Linked DNA regions of Homo sapiens: region 1 is linked to region 2. The links are contacts of gene promoters, found by promoter capture Hi-C in blood cells and fetal thymus (Javierre and others, 2016). All regions are on one chromosome and are shown on one strand. The core of a region is centred on a gene start or on the middle of the fragment in contact, and the rest is flanking DNA. Distances in the headings are between cores, read along the strand shown.

Region 1 (6,585 bases), core at 1,949-4,448, 250 kb before region 2:
AAAAATATAAAAAATAGCCAGGCTTGGTGGTGGTTGCCTGTAGTCCCAGCTACTCAGGAGGCTGAGGCAGGAGTAATCACTTGAACAGAGATGGAGGTTGCAGTGAGCCAAGATCGCACCCCTGCACTTCAGCCTGGGTGACAGAGCAAGACTCTGTCTCAAAAAAGAAAAGAAAAAAATGAAGTCTATAGGCATTCACTGTAAAATTCTTTCAACTTTGAGGTCCTCTATGTGTCCATCTAAAAATATGCTTAAGTCTATTCTCAGTAGCTTTATTCATAACAGCCCTAACTATAATAAAAACCCAAATGTCAATCAACAGGAGAATAAACAAATCATGGTATACTCACATAATGGAACACTACACAGCAATGAAAAAGAACTGCTGCTACATACAATGATGGACAATGATCACAGACATAATGTTCAGTTGAAGAAACCAGAATAAAAAAAGAATACATACTGTACCATTTATATTAAGTTCAAGAATAGAAGCAAAACTAATCAGTGATAATAATAATCAGAGTAATGGTTGGGGATCAGGTAGTTATTGACTAGGAAGGGTCACAGGGAACTTTCTGGAGTACAGGAACAGTTCTATTTCTTGATCTGGATGGTGGTTACATTAGTGTATTTATATGTAAAAATTTGTTGAATAATATTAAGATTTGTGCCCTTAACTGCATGAAGCTATACCTCAACAAAACAGTAAGTCTTTTAAAGAGTCTTCCTGCTTTAAAACAGACCATTGGATGCTTTACTCTGCAGTCTAGATAAATACTCATCAGTCATTTGCCCAAACATGATTGGGTTCAGAAAGGGAATCTTAGGCCAGGTGCAGTGGCTCACGCCTGTAATCCTAGCACTTTGGGAGGCCAAGGCAGGTGGATTGCTTGAGTTCAGGAGTTCAAGACCAGCCTGGGCAACATGGTGAAACCCTGTCTCTACTAAAATACAAAAAATTAGCAGGGCATGGTGGTGCACGCCTGTAGTCCCAGCTACTTGGGAGGCTGAGGCACGAGTACTGCTTGAACCCAGGAGGTGGAGATTGCAGTGAGCCAAGATTGCGTCACTGCACTCCAGCCAGCCTGGGTGACAGAGCAACACTGTCTTTAAAAAAAAAAAGGGGGGAATCGTATATTTCACTTTTTCATTTCTCTGATTTCACAGTCAGCAACTCATGGTGTCAATGATGTCACTAGAGATAGCCTTCATGGGGCCGGGTGTGGTGGCTCATGCCTGTAATCCCAGCACTTTGGGAGGCCAAGGTGGGCAAATCACGAGGTCAGGAGATCGAGACCATCCTGGCCAACACAGTGAAACCCCGGCTTTACTAAAAATAAAAAAATTAGCTGGGCATGGTGGCGCGTGCCTGTAATCCCAGCTACTTGGGAGACTCAGGCAGGAGAATCTCTTGAACCCGGGAGGCGGAGGTTGCAGTGAGCCAATATCGCACCACTGCACTCCAGCCCGGCAATAGAGCAAGACTCTGTCTCAAAAATAAAAAAGAGAGAGAGAGATAGCCTTCGGGGCACAAAGTAAAAGTTGCAAAGACCACTGCACGGGCTCTCTTCTCCCATGTGTTCCCACTTCATGCTCCAGGCCTCTGGGCTGCTGGGAATGCAAGAAGCACTTTAACTGGGAAGTCATCAACCTCAATTTTGCCAACAAACTTAAAGGAGTGGAAAAGTTCCCCATGGCATCACCACCATCATAAAGGAGAGTGCTCCCACCACTTTAGAAAGGTTCTCAAATTTGGTTTTCAGACAAGAGCCCTCAGTCACATACATATATCTCATTAAATAAGCAGATGTTTTACTTATTTAACAGGCATCAAATTTTTTGCTTGAGTCCAGATTTAGTGACTGATCCATAAAGTGGAAACAAAGAACAAACAGTATGATTGTTCAGAAAGCAGGATGAACATTTCTCTCCAATAAGGTACCATTTTGTGAGCTCATAGTCCTTGAATACTGAAAATGATGAAAGGAAAAGGAATATTTTATATGCAAAAAGGTAGCATAAGGAGGTGTTCCGATTAGGTGTGATCGACCTAAAAGATTAATGAAACAACAAACCCATCAAAAACGACTACAATTGACAGAAAGCTAGAAACATTAACGGCGTTGGAAAGCTCAAATGACAGAAGTTCACAAATTCTTAATCATCTAATCCAGGCCTCTCCTCATTACCATTCAGACCACTCACAAAGATCCCATTAAATCAGCTCATAATCAGGTTTACAAAAATAAGACTCCTTAAGAGATGTGGCAATGTGAGAAGTGGAGCACGTACACAGGCACAGCAAATGACTACGTTAGTGAAAACTGTAGGGTTTATCATAAGCAAAATGACAGTGCTCTCCTCCGTGAAAAAGAGAAAGAAATCGGACGGGTCTCCTTTAAGTGAAAATAGAGACTGTGAGAACATAAAGACATTGCTGACATCTGTGTTTTAACATTCCATTTATTTAAGGAAAGAGGAGAAAGAAATGTTTGGAATATAAATAAACCCTTCCCTATAGGAAGGTCAGAAATGTAGAAATACGCAGAAGCTGGTGGGAGCAAAAGCCGATCCTGAGACAAGGATATCTAGAGAGGTAGCCCTGGTCGGGATGTGGGAAGAGGCCTGCGAAGAAACAGCAGAACCAAGGGAAAGAAAGGGAAGAACGTCAGGTCCACTGCTCATCCCGAGCGCCTAGAACTGCGCCAGACTCCTGGCATGCGCACAGGACACTGAAGGAAGGGATGAGCTTTTCGGCTAGCGTATTGTCTTTGAGCGACAGAGCGGGATTCCCAAACGTCCCCGCCGGTCACTCAGCTCCTGCAGTTCATGCCTAGCAAGAACCTTGCGGGCGGTCCGAGGCTGCCATCCTTTCACAGCTGTATTTGGGGGCAAAAATAGGGTAACGAAGCCGGGGGCCCAGACTTACTTTTGCAGCCGGGTGCCATAGCGCCCTCACCCCTCGATCCCGAAAACAATGCAGCCGGTGCCTCCACCTCCCGACTGCACCGCGCGCGACTGAATTCCGCCCGCTCAAGATGGCCGCAAATTTGAATTTGGCGCTTGGATCGGACGTTGACGCCCGCATGGAGGCCGCCATGTTGCCCGGCCTACGCATCGGGGGCGTGGCCCAGTGACGTCACAGCTAAGCGCCTCTGTATCGTCGCGAATCCGTCGCGGAACCTGTCTTCTGTCTTTACCCAGAGCTACCATGAGCAAGCGGAACCAGGTATCGTACGTGCGGCCAGCCGAGCCGGCGTTTCTGGCCCGCTTCAAGGAACGGGTCGGCTACAGGGAGGGACCCACCGTAGAGACTAAGGTGAGCCTTCGCCAGTCGTGTTTCTTCGGAAGCGCAGCCAGCCCGCCACTTTCAACTTTTGCCTCTACTTGGAGGGTGGGTGCTGTCGGGTCCCTCTTTTCACCCGCGCTCGAACCCAATTCCGGTGGAACTCGGACCCCCAGGCTGGTTCTTTTCAAGCGACCACAGCCCCCTACGCCCAGGAAGCTCTGTAGTTTTCAGAGCGCTGCTGTGTTCCTGAAAATGAACTGACGTGTAAACCACCTGGTCCTTGGTAGATGGTAAAGAAAGATCACTTTATTGTCTCTTCTTTCTCACTTGTTTACCTCAAAAGCTGTGAGTTCGCAGGGTGAGTTAGAGTTACAGCGTCGTCCCGTATTCCAGATAAGGACACAGGCCACTCGATCAAATGACCCCCGCCCCAACCATGTCCTAGGACTCGAGTCTGGAACGTCTTCGGAGGAATGTCCTGAATCTGTTTCTATGCTTTGTTAATTAAAAATAAATAAAAATAATATAGAGAAGGTCGGGCACAGTGGCTCACGCCTGTAATCCCAGTACTTTGGGAGGCCTAGGTGGGCGGATCACCTGAGGTCAGGAGTTCGAGACCAGCAGAGCCAATAGCCAATATGGTGAAACCCCCCGTCTCTGCTAAAAATACAAAAATTAGCCGGGCATGGTGGCACATGCCTGTAGTCCCAGCTACTCCGGAGGCTGAGACAGAATCGCTCGAACCCGGGAGGTGGACGTTGCAGTGAGTTGAGATGGCGCAGCTGCACTCCAGCCTGGACAACAGAGCGAGACTCCGTCTCAAAAAAAAAAAAAAAAAGCCGGGCCTGGTGGCTCACGCCTGTAATCCCAGCGCTCTGGGAGGCTGAGGCGGCAGATCACGAGGTCAGGAGATCGAGACCATCCTGGCTAAAACAGTGAAACCGCGTCTCTACTAAAAATACAAAAAATTAGCCAGGCATGGTGGCGGGCGCCTGTAGTCCCAGCTACTCGGGAGGCTGAGGCAGGAGAATGGCGTGAACCCAGGAGGAGGAGCTTGCAGTGAGCCGAGATCGCGCCACTGCACTCCAGACTGGGCGACAGAGCGAGACTCCGTCTCAAAAAAAAGAAAAAAAAGAAGAGTAAGCAGAAGCCGTAAATATCCTGGGTCTAAATAGAAGAAGAGGAGCTTCAGGAAAGAGCCACACCTGACTATTGTTGTCTAGGGCCGGAGGGATCAGTATTGAACACATGAATGACAAGAAAGCAAAACAGCTACATTGCTGATACAGAGAAAGTTTTAGTGGTCTGGATAGAAGAGCAAACCAGCCACAACATTCCCTTTAACCAAAGCCTAATCTAGAGCAAGGCCCTAACTCTTAAATCCTGTGAAGTCTGAGACATGTGAGAAAGCTGCAGAAGAAAAGTGTGAAGCTAACAGAGGTTGGTTCATGAGGTTTAAGGAAAGAAGCCATCTCCATAACATAAAAGTATGAGATGAAGAAGCAAATTATTCAGATCTAGCTAAGATAGTTGATGAAGGTGGCTACACTAAACAGGTTTTCAATGTAGATGAAACAGCCTTCTATTGGAAGAAGATGCCATCTAGGACTTTTTTTTTTTTTTTTTTTTTGAGATAGGGTCTCACTCTGTCGCCCAGGCTAGAGTGCAGTGGTGCAATCACAGCTCACTGCAGCCTTGACCTCCTGGGCTCAAGTGATCCTCCTGCCTCAGCCTCTCAAGCAGCTGGGACTACAGGCATGAACTAACGCATCTGGCTAATTTTTGTATTTTTTTGTAGAGACAGGATTCCACTGTGTTGCCAAGGCTGGTCTCAAACTCCTGGACTCAAGCAATCCTCCCACTTTAGCCTCTCAAAGCCTCTCAAAAACCACTATGCCTGGGCCATTTAGGACTTTCATAGCTAGAGAGAAGTCAGTGCCTGGCTTCATATTTTCAAAGGACAGGCTAACTCTCTCATTAGGAGCTAATGCAGCTGGTGACTTTTAAGTTGAAGCTAATACTTACCATTCCAAAAATCCTAGGGTCCGTAAGAATTATGCTAAATCTACTCTGCCTGTGCTCTAGAAATGGAAAAACAAAACCTTGATGACAGCACATCTCTTTATAATATGGTTTACTGAATTATTTTTAGCCCACTGTTGAGACCTACTGCTCAGAAAAAAAAAGATTCTTTCAATATATTATTGCTCATGGACAATACACTTGGTCACCCAAGAACTCTGATGGAGATCTACAAGGAGATTAACGTGGGGTTTTCATGCCTGCTAACACAACATCCATTCTGCAGCCCATGGATCAAGGAGTAATTTCTATTTTCAGTCTTATTATTTAAGAAATAACAGCCAGGCGCAATGGCTCACACTTGTAATCCCAGCACTTTGGGAAGTCAAGGCAGGTGGATTGCTTGAGCCCAGGAGTTCAAGACCAGCCTGGCCAACATGGTGAGACCCCATCTCTACAAAAAATACAAAATTTAGCCCAGTGTGGTGGCATGCACCTGTGGTCCCAGCTACTTGGGAGGCTGAGGTGGGAGGATTCCCTGACCCCAGGTAGGTTGAGGCTGCAGTCAGCCATGATTGCACCACTGCACTCGAGCCTGGGTAACAGAGCCAGACCCTGTCTCAAAAAAAAAAAAAAAAGTCAAAACCATTTGTAAGGCTACAGCTGCCATGGATAGTGATTCCTCTGATGCATCTGGATATTGTAAATTGAAAACTTTATGGAAAGGCTTCACCATTCTAAACACGTTAAGAACATCCATGATTCATGGGAAGAGGGCAAAATATCAACATTAACAGGAATTTGGAAGAGGTTGATTCCAACCTTCATGGATGACTTCGAGAGATTCAGGCCTTCAGTGGAGGAAGTAATTGCAGGTGTGGTAGAACAAGCAAAAGAACTAGAATTAGAAGTAGAGCCTGAAAATGTGACTAAGTTGTTGCAGTCTCATAAAAATTGAACAGATGAGTTGCTTCTTATTGATGAGCAAAAAAAGTGGTTTATTGAGATGGAATCTACTTCTGGTGAAGATGCTGTGAACATTGTTGAAATGTCAATAAAGGATTTAGAATAAACTTACTTGGTAAAGCAGCAGCAGGTTTAAGAGGACTGATTCCAATTTTGAAAGGAGTTCAGCTGTGGGTAAAATGCTATGAAACAGCATTGCAGCATCACAAAAGAGAAATCTTTTGTGAAAGGAAGACTCAATGCAGCAAACTTCATCGTCTTATTTTTAAAAATTGCCACAGCCACCCCGCCTTTCAGCAACCACC
Region 2 (5,691 bases), core at 828-3,327:
GGAGGGGAGGCGGAGGTTGCAGTGAGCCGAGATCACACCACTGCCCTCCAGCCTGGGTGACAGAGGGAGGCTCCGTCTCAAAATAAATAAATAAATAAATGAAGGAATTCCTAATGCTAAATGCCACATAATCAAACTGAAATTTTATAGAAGTATGTGAATCCCCTAACAGACCAGTTTTTCCTGCAAACAGGAGATTCATAGCAACCATTCAGAAAGGGCCCAGTTAACCCCAGTCAGCATAAGGAAGGCCCCCTCTGCTTTAATCCTTAAAAGAAAAGTAACCTGATGTTAATCAATCTATTTTTGCTATTGTTTGGTTCTCTTGTTCCCACCTTTAAAAACCCACTGTTCTGCCACATGCTGTTAGTCTACTTTATAGAAGTTTTTACTATTTTGTACCTGCTTCTCCAACTCATAATGTTACACAGCCTCTCCAGGTTGTAGCCCAAGAAGCAGCCTGCTCTTTCTCGTTCTCTCTCTTTCTTCCTTCTCTCTTTCATTCCTTTTCTCTCTTTCTCACTTCCCTCCCTCCCTTCCTCCCTTCCTTCCTTGGGTCTCGCTCTGTCGCCCAAGCTGGAGTACACTGCCCCAATCATAGCTCACTGCAGCCTCGACCTCCCCGGCCCAAGCGATCCTTCCGCCTCTGCCTCCACAGTAGCTAGGACTACAGGCGTGCACCACCAAGCTCAGCTAATGCTCTTTCTGGTCTGAGTTTTGACCCTCATCCTAACCTGTTGTTCTTTGAGTACACTCTGGGCCTTGATGCGTTGGGTCATTCCTGCTTTCCCAGGTGGTAACCGTTCCTGGGCAGGGATTTTAGTTTTCCTTGGAATCTTGCCCTCCTCACTATCCTGCCCACAACCTTCTACCCCTAGCTTCTGGGATCTCAGCTAGGAGCCATGCTATCCCCAACTCTCCCTCTACAGGGACGTGGGACGGGAGAGCTTTTATGAAGCACAGTAGTGAAAAGACCAAAAGATTTGGATTCAGTGGCTATTCCAGTTACTGACTCTATTTCCTTGGGCAACTCAAATCAATGCATGGCAGCCAGTGTGTTATGAGCTACCGGAAGTATACAGAAAAGTACCAGAAAAAATACAAGCATTATCATCAGTCGCTGTCAATTAAATAACTCTGTTACATTTCAACAGTGTTCGTAACCACTTGACATTGATGTATTTGTGTAATTTCTATTATCTGTTTTTCCCACAAAGCTGTAGCTCCATCCAAAGTGGGCAACTGAGTGTCTTGGTCAGTCATGTGCAGCCTGATGACCCTTGAACAGTTGCAAAAGTGCGCCTAGGGCTTGTAGCATTTACTTAAAAGGGGATAATAAACTCTCACGGCCAGTGCTGGGCTTATTGCCTTGTTTGGGAATTTCTCCATTCAAGGGTTTTATGTTTGGGGATGTGCTGGCCCTATTTTTTTGTTTGTTTGTTTTTTGAGACGGAGTCTGGCTCTGTCTCCCAGGCTGGAGTGCAGTGGCACGATCTCGGCTCACTGCAACCTCCGCCTCCCAGGTTCAAACGATTCTCCTGCCTCAGCCGCCGAAGTAGCTGCGATTACAGGCGCCGCGCCACCACACCCAGCTACTTTTTTTTTATTTTTAGTAGACACGGGGTTTCACCGTGTTAGCCACCGATCTCCTGACCTCGTGATCCGCCCACCTCGGCTTCCCAAAGTTCTGGGATTACAGGCGTGAGCCACCGCGCCAGGCCGCTGGCTCTATTTTCACCGCTAGCTTTGGATCCCTTTCTTCCCTGAAGGAAAAGAGGCCTCCAGGGCAGCCGTGCAGAACCGATGGGAGGGATGTAGGATAATACGCCAAAGCCGATAGAGTTCTGGAGCGCGCCTGGGCATCAGAGCGTGGAAGACAAGTGTCCGCGGAAGGAGGCGAAGGATGCTGGACAAGCCCCGCCGCCCGCCGCCCGCCGCCCGCCGCCCGCCGCCCGCCGCCCGCCGCCAGCGGCCCTGGGCCCAGGGAGAAGCAGAGATGTTGGCCCTCCCAGTTTCCTAGAGAGGCCGCAGAGGGCCCGGGGAGGCGACGCGCGTGCGCAACTGGGGAAGCTGGGAGGTAGGCGCGGGGCGGTCGGCTGCGGTGGCGGCGTTTGGATGATTGTCTCTCGGCGGCGGAGTCGGTGAGCGGCCCGGCGGGGCGCGGGGTGCGGAGCGGGGGCGGCTGTGCGTGCGAGAGTGGCAGGTGAGGCCGGGCCTGGAGGCTGCACCCGGGGCGGGGGTCTGGCCGTGGATCCCGCCCGGCCGCGCCGAGGGCATACCTCTTCGCCCCCCGGGCGTCTGGGGCAGAGAATCTGGAAAATTCCCGGTTTCTTCTGGCTTTATCTTTTCACCCAATTATGCGAATAAAGCGTACTTATTAGAGACAATTAGATAAGTGGAAGAAAAGTGAAAGTAGCCACCGTCCGGAAATCTTAGTCTCCAGGTCTCCTGACATTGAAAACATCTGGCATAGACTTCTCCCTTTTTCTTGTCTTATTTCACTTCCTGGCACCTGTCGCCGTCTAACATAGCATGTATTTGTTTATTGGTTATCTTCCCATAAGCCCCTTGCCAGGGCAGTGCTTTCTGTTTGCTTTATTAACTGCTGTTACCTTAGTGTATGGGAAATAGTAGGTGCTCCTAGAAGGTGTTTGTTAAATTAATGAAAGAAGGAATATCTAAACTGGGAGACAAGAAGAATTGACAGTTTTTAATGTCTTTTTTTTTTTTTTAAATAGCCCATTGCCAAGTTAAGAATGTAAGAGTGACCTTGAGCCTGGAACATTTCCTTGCAGAGTTAGAGCCCTCACAGCCTGTGCTGCTGCATTTAATGCCTTGTGTCTTTCAGTGTTTCAGGCTTCATGTGTACTCCTTTGTTGTGTTTAATCTCTTAAGTCAGTGGCCTTCATTCATTCTCTCAGCCTTCTGTATTTCACACCCCATAGGAGTGGGGAGGGTGGATTGAGATCTTTCTTCCTTACTAAGTGGGGTGTGTGCATCACACCAGCCCTATAGCTGTGGAGTGGATCTGCTGGGTGTGGGGGCTCTTTGCATTGCAGGAGGCTGGATCTTGTTCCCTGTTTCTCCTTTTGCTGTAAGTATACGCTGTACCTCTTGGGGCCTGATGTGGTTGGTATCTGTCCTCAGCGACCTCAAATCATGTGCTATCCCTTCCTTGGATGGCCTTTTAATCTTGGCAGCACAGCCTGGCCACCTGGTGAATAGTGGAACAGTCATGGTGATGCATAAGGATCTAGTATGTTCCTTTTAGGTGCTGTATGGTATTTCATCCTATAAAAATGCTACTTTTATTTAGCCATATTGATGGACAAGTAGGTTAAATCCAGTATTATGTTATTACAGAGAATATTTTAGTAAATACCTGTGTAAATGTCTGAATACCCGTGCAAGTGTTTTTCAGGGCAGATTCTTACAAGTTAAATTCCTGTAGCGTAAGGAATATGTCTTTTTAGTTTTACTGTGGACTTTCAAACTATCCTTCCTGTTGGCTATTACATTTCCACATCTATTAGTGGTTTGTGTTTGGTGTTTTTTTCTTTTGCTTTTCTTTTGGACAGAGATTTTTTTCATATTGATGTATTCAAATATATTCACTCTTTTCATTTTGTTGTCTTAAGAAATTCTTGGTTACACCAGGGTTCTTAGAGTCTTTATGGTTTTTTTCTTTTTTTTTTTTGAGACAGAGTCTCACTCTGTGTCACCCAGGCTGGAGTGCAGTGGCACAATCTTGGATCACTGCAGCCTCTGCCTCCTGGGTTCAAGCAATTCTCTGCCTCAGCCTCCCGAGTATCTGAGATTACAGGCGCCTGCCACCACATCTGGCTTTTTTTTTTTTTAAAGTAGAGATGGGATTTCACCATCTTGGTTAGGTTGGTCTTGAACTCCTGACCTTGTGATCCACCCACCTTGGCCTCCCAAAGAGCTGGGATTACAGGCGTGAGCCACCGCACCCAGCCTTTTAGCTTTGTTTTTTAAGTTTCTTTATTTTTTGTGTGATTTTACTTACTATTTTTATTTGCCTAGCCAATTGTCCCAACACAATTCATTGACTAGTTTAATTTTTCCCACTGACTTGTAATGCTACTGTTACCAACTCTCAAGGGAAGTCGTTTGACTTCAGTGGGTCCTTTACCTGCCTGGTGGTGTTCATGCCAATAAAATGAGACCAAGTTTCGTTAAGCAGTGCAGAAACTTTATTTGTTGATGAAGGAATGGAGAAGGAAAAGCTCATGCTCAAAGTACCCTCCTCTGGGTGTGGTGAAGAGGGATTTTTAAGGTCTCTTAGGGCATGTAGTGGGGCAGAGATCCTGGAAAGAGGTGGGGCCCTATGGGAAGAACTGGAGTGTGCTCAGTCTCATTCTTTTTTCTTTCTTTCTTTCTTTTTTTTTCTTTTGCGATGGAGTTTTGCTCTTGTTGCCCAGGCTGGAGTGCAATGGCTTGATCTTGGCTCACCGCAACCTCCGCCTCCCAGGTTCAAGCAGTTCTCCTGTCTCAGCCCCCCAAATAGCTGGGATTACAGGCATGTACCACATGCCTGGCTAATTTAGTATTTTTAATAGAGACGGGGTTTCTCCATGTTGGTCAGGAGGGTCTTGAACTCCTGACCTCAGGTGATCCACCCGCCTTGGCCTCCCAAAGTGCTGGGATTACAGACGTGAGCCACCGCGCCTGGCCAGTCTCATTGTTTCTTTTGTACCCAGCACTATATGTGCCTAGCAAGTGTATTTCTCCCTTCTAGGTGGAGATTTTAATATGGTAATGAAGCAAGGATTCAGGCCTGGGTAGCACTGCTGAGCTAAGTTCTCCTTTGTGGTTACTGATATTTAGCCTTTTTCTCTCTAAGCAAGCACAGCTGCTGGCACAGGTTAATTTTACAGGTTCTGGGGCTCTTTTTAAAAGAAGGTCTTGCTGCTATAAGTAGACAGAGAGGGCCTCCAGGGATCATAGGAATTTAATCAACTTGAGCAGTCAGCCAGTTTTACAGCCTTCTGCCCTGCAGCCTGTTTCTTCCTAAACCCTGTGTGGATTGCAGTCACCTAGTTAGTTAAAACCAGCCCCAGGCCGGGCGTGGTGGCTCACACCTGTAATCCCAGCACTTTGGGAGGCTGAGGCGGGTGGATCACAAGGTCAGGAGATTGAGACCATCCTTGCTAACACGGTGAAACCCTGTCTCTACTAAAAATACAAAAAAATTAGCCGGGCGTGGTGGCAGGCGCCTGTAGTCTCAGCTACTCAGGAGGCTGAGGCAGGAGAATAGTGTGAACCTGGGAGGCAGAGCTTGCAGTGAGCCGAGATTGCGCCACTGCACTCCAGCCTGGGCGACAGAGTGAGACTCTCTCTCAAAAAAACAAAAACAAAAACAAAAAAAAACCCCAGCTCCTGACAGACCCCAGCAACTTATAGATGAACCTGAGTGAACTTTTCTCATTACCATGCTAAAGTCTCCACCCGGGGAGTAGCTATAGCTTCATTACCATAACACATGACTTATGTGCTGGCATAATGACTCACTGCGTCTGTACCACTGGGACCCCTCCTATACATGGGATGATGTAGCCTCTCGCCTCTCCATTGCTCCATAAAATTCTCCTATTACTTTCCCTTGGAGAGATGCTGCTTTGGAAAATACTCCCAGTGTCCTCCTTACTTACACCAAGTAATAAAACTCCT

The links. Contacts are between HindIII fragments. The CHiCAGO score rates a contact against its expected background, and 5 or more counts as called.
Region 1: the fragment with the promoter of KIAA1143 here is called in contact with the fragment with the promoter of ZNF852 in region 2 in 1 of 17 cell types (neutrophils); the score reaches 5.3 in neutrophils.

What each region holds. Positions count from the first base shown.
Region 1 is chr3:44,758,232-44,764,816 of GRCh38, reverse strand. KIAA1143 reads left to right here and starts at 3,198. Exons shown (of 3, transcript NM_020696.4): 1 at 3,198-3,322. The coding sequence starts at 3,215. KIF15 (kinesin family member 15) reads right to left here and starts at 3,023. Exons shown (of 35, transcript NM_020242.3): 1 at 2,933-3,023. The coding sequence starts at 2,951. RefSeq lists enhancers at 2,973-3,252, 4,043-4,685. The HindIII fragment of the contact is 21,704 bases long and covers 1-6,585 here.
Region 2 is chr3:44,507,003-44,512,693 of GRCh38, reverse strand. It overlaps ZNF852 (zinc finger protein 852), which reads left to right and starts at 2,077. Exons shown (of 4, transcript NM_001423469.1): 1 at 2,077-2,141. RefSeq lists enhancers at 1,623-1,682, 1,141-1,917, 1,918-2,694 and silencers at 1,903-1,952, 2,083-2,142, 2,153-2,312. The HindIII fragment of the contact is 19,774 bases long and covers 1-5,691 here.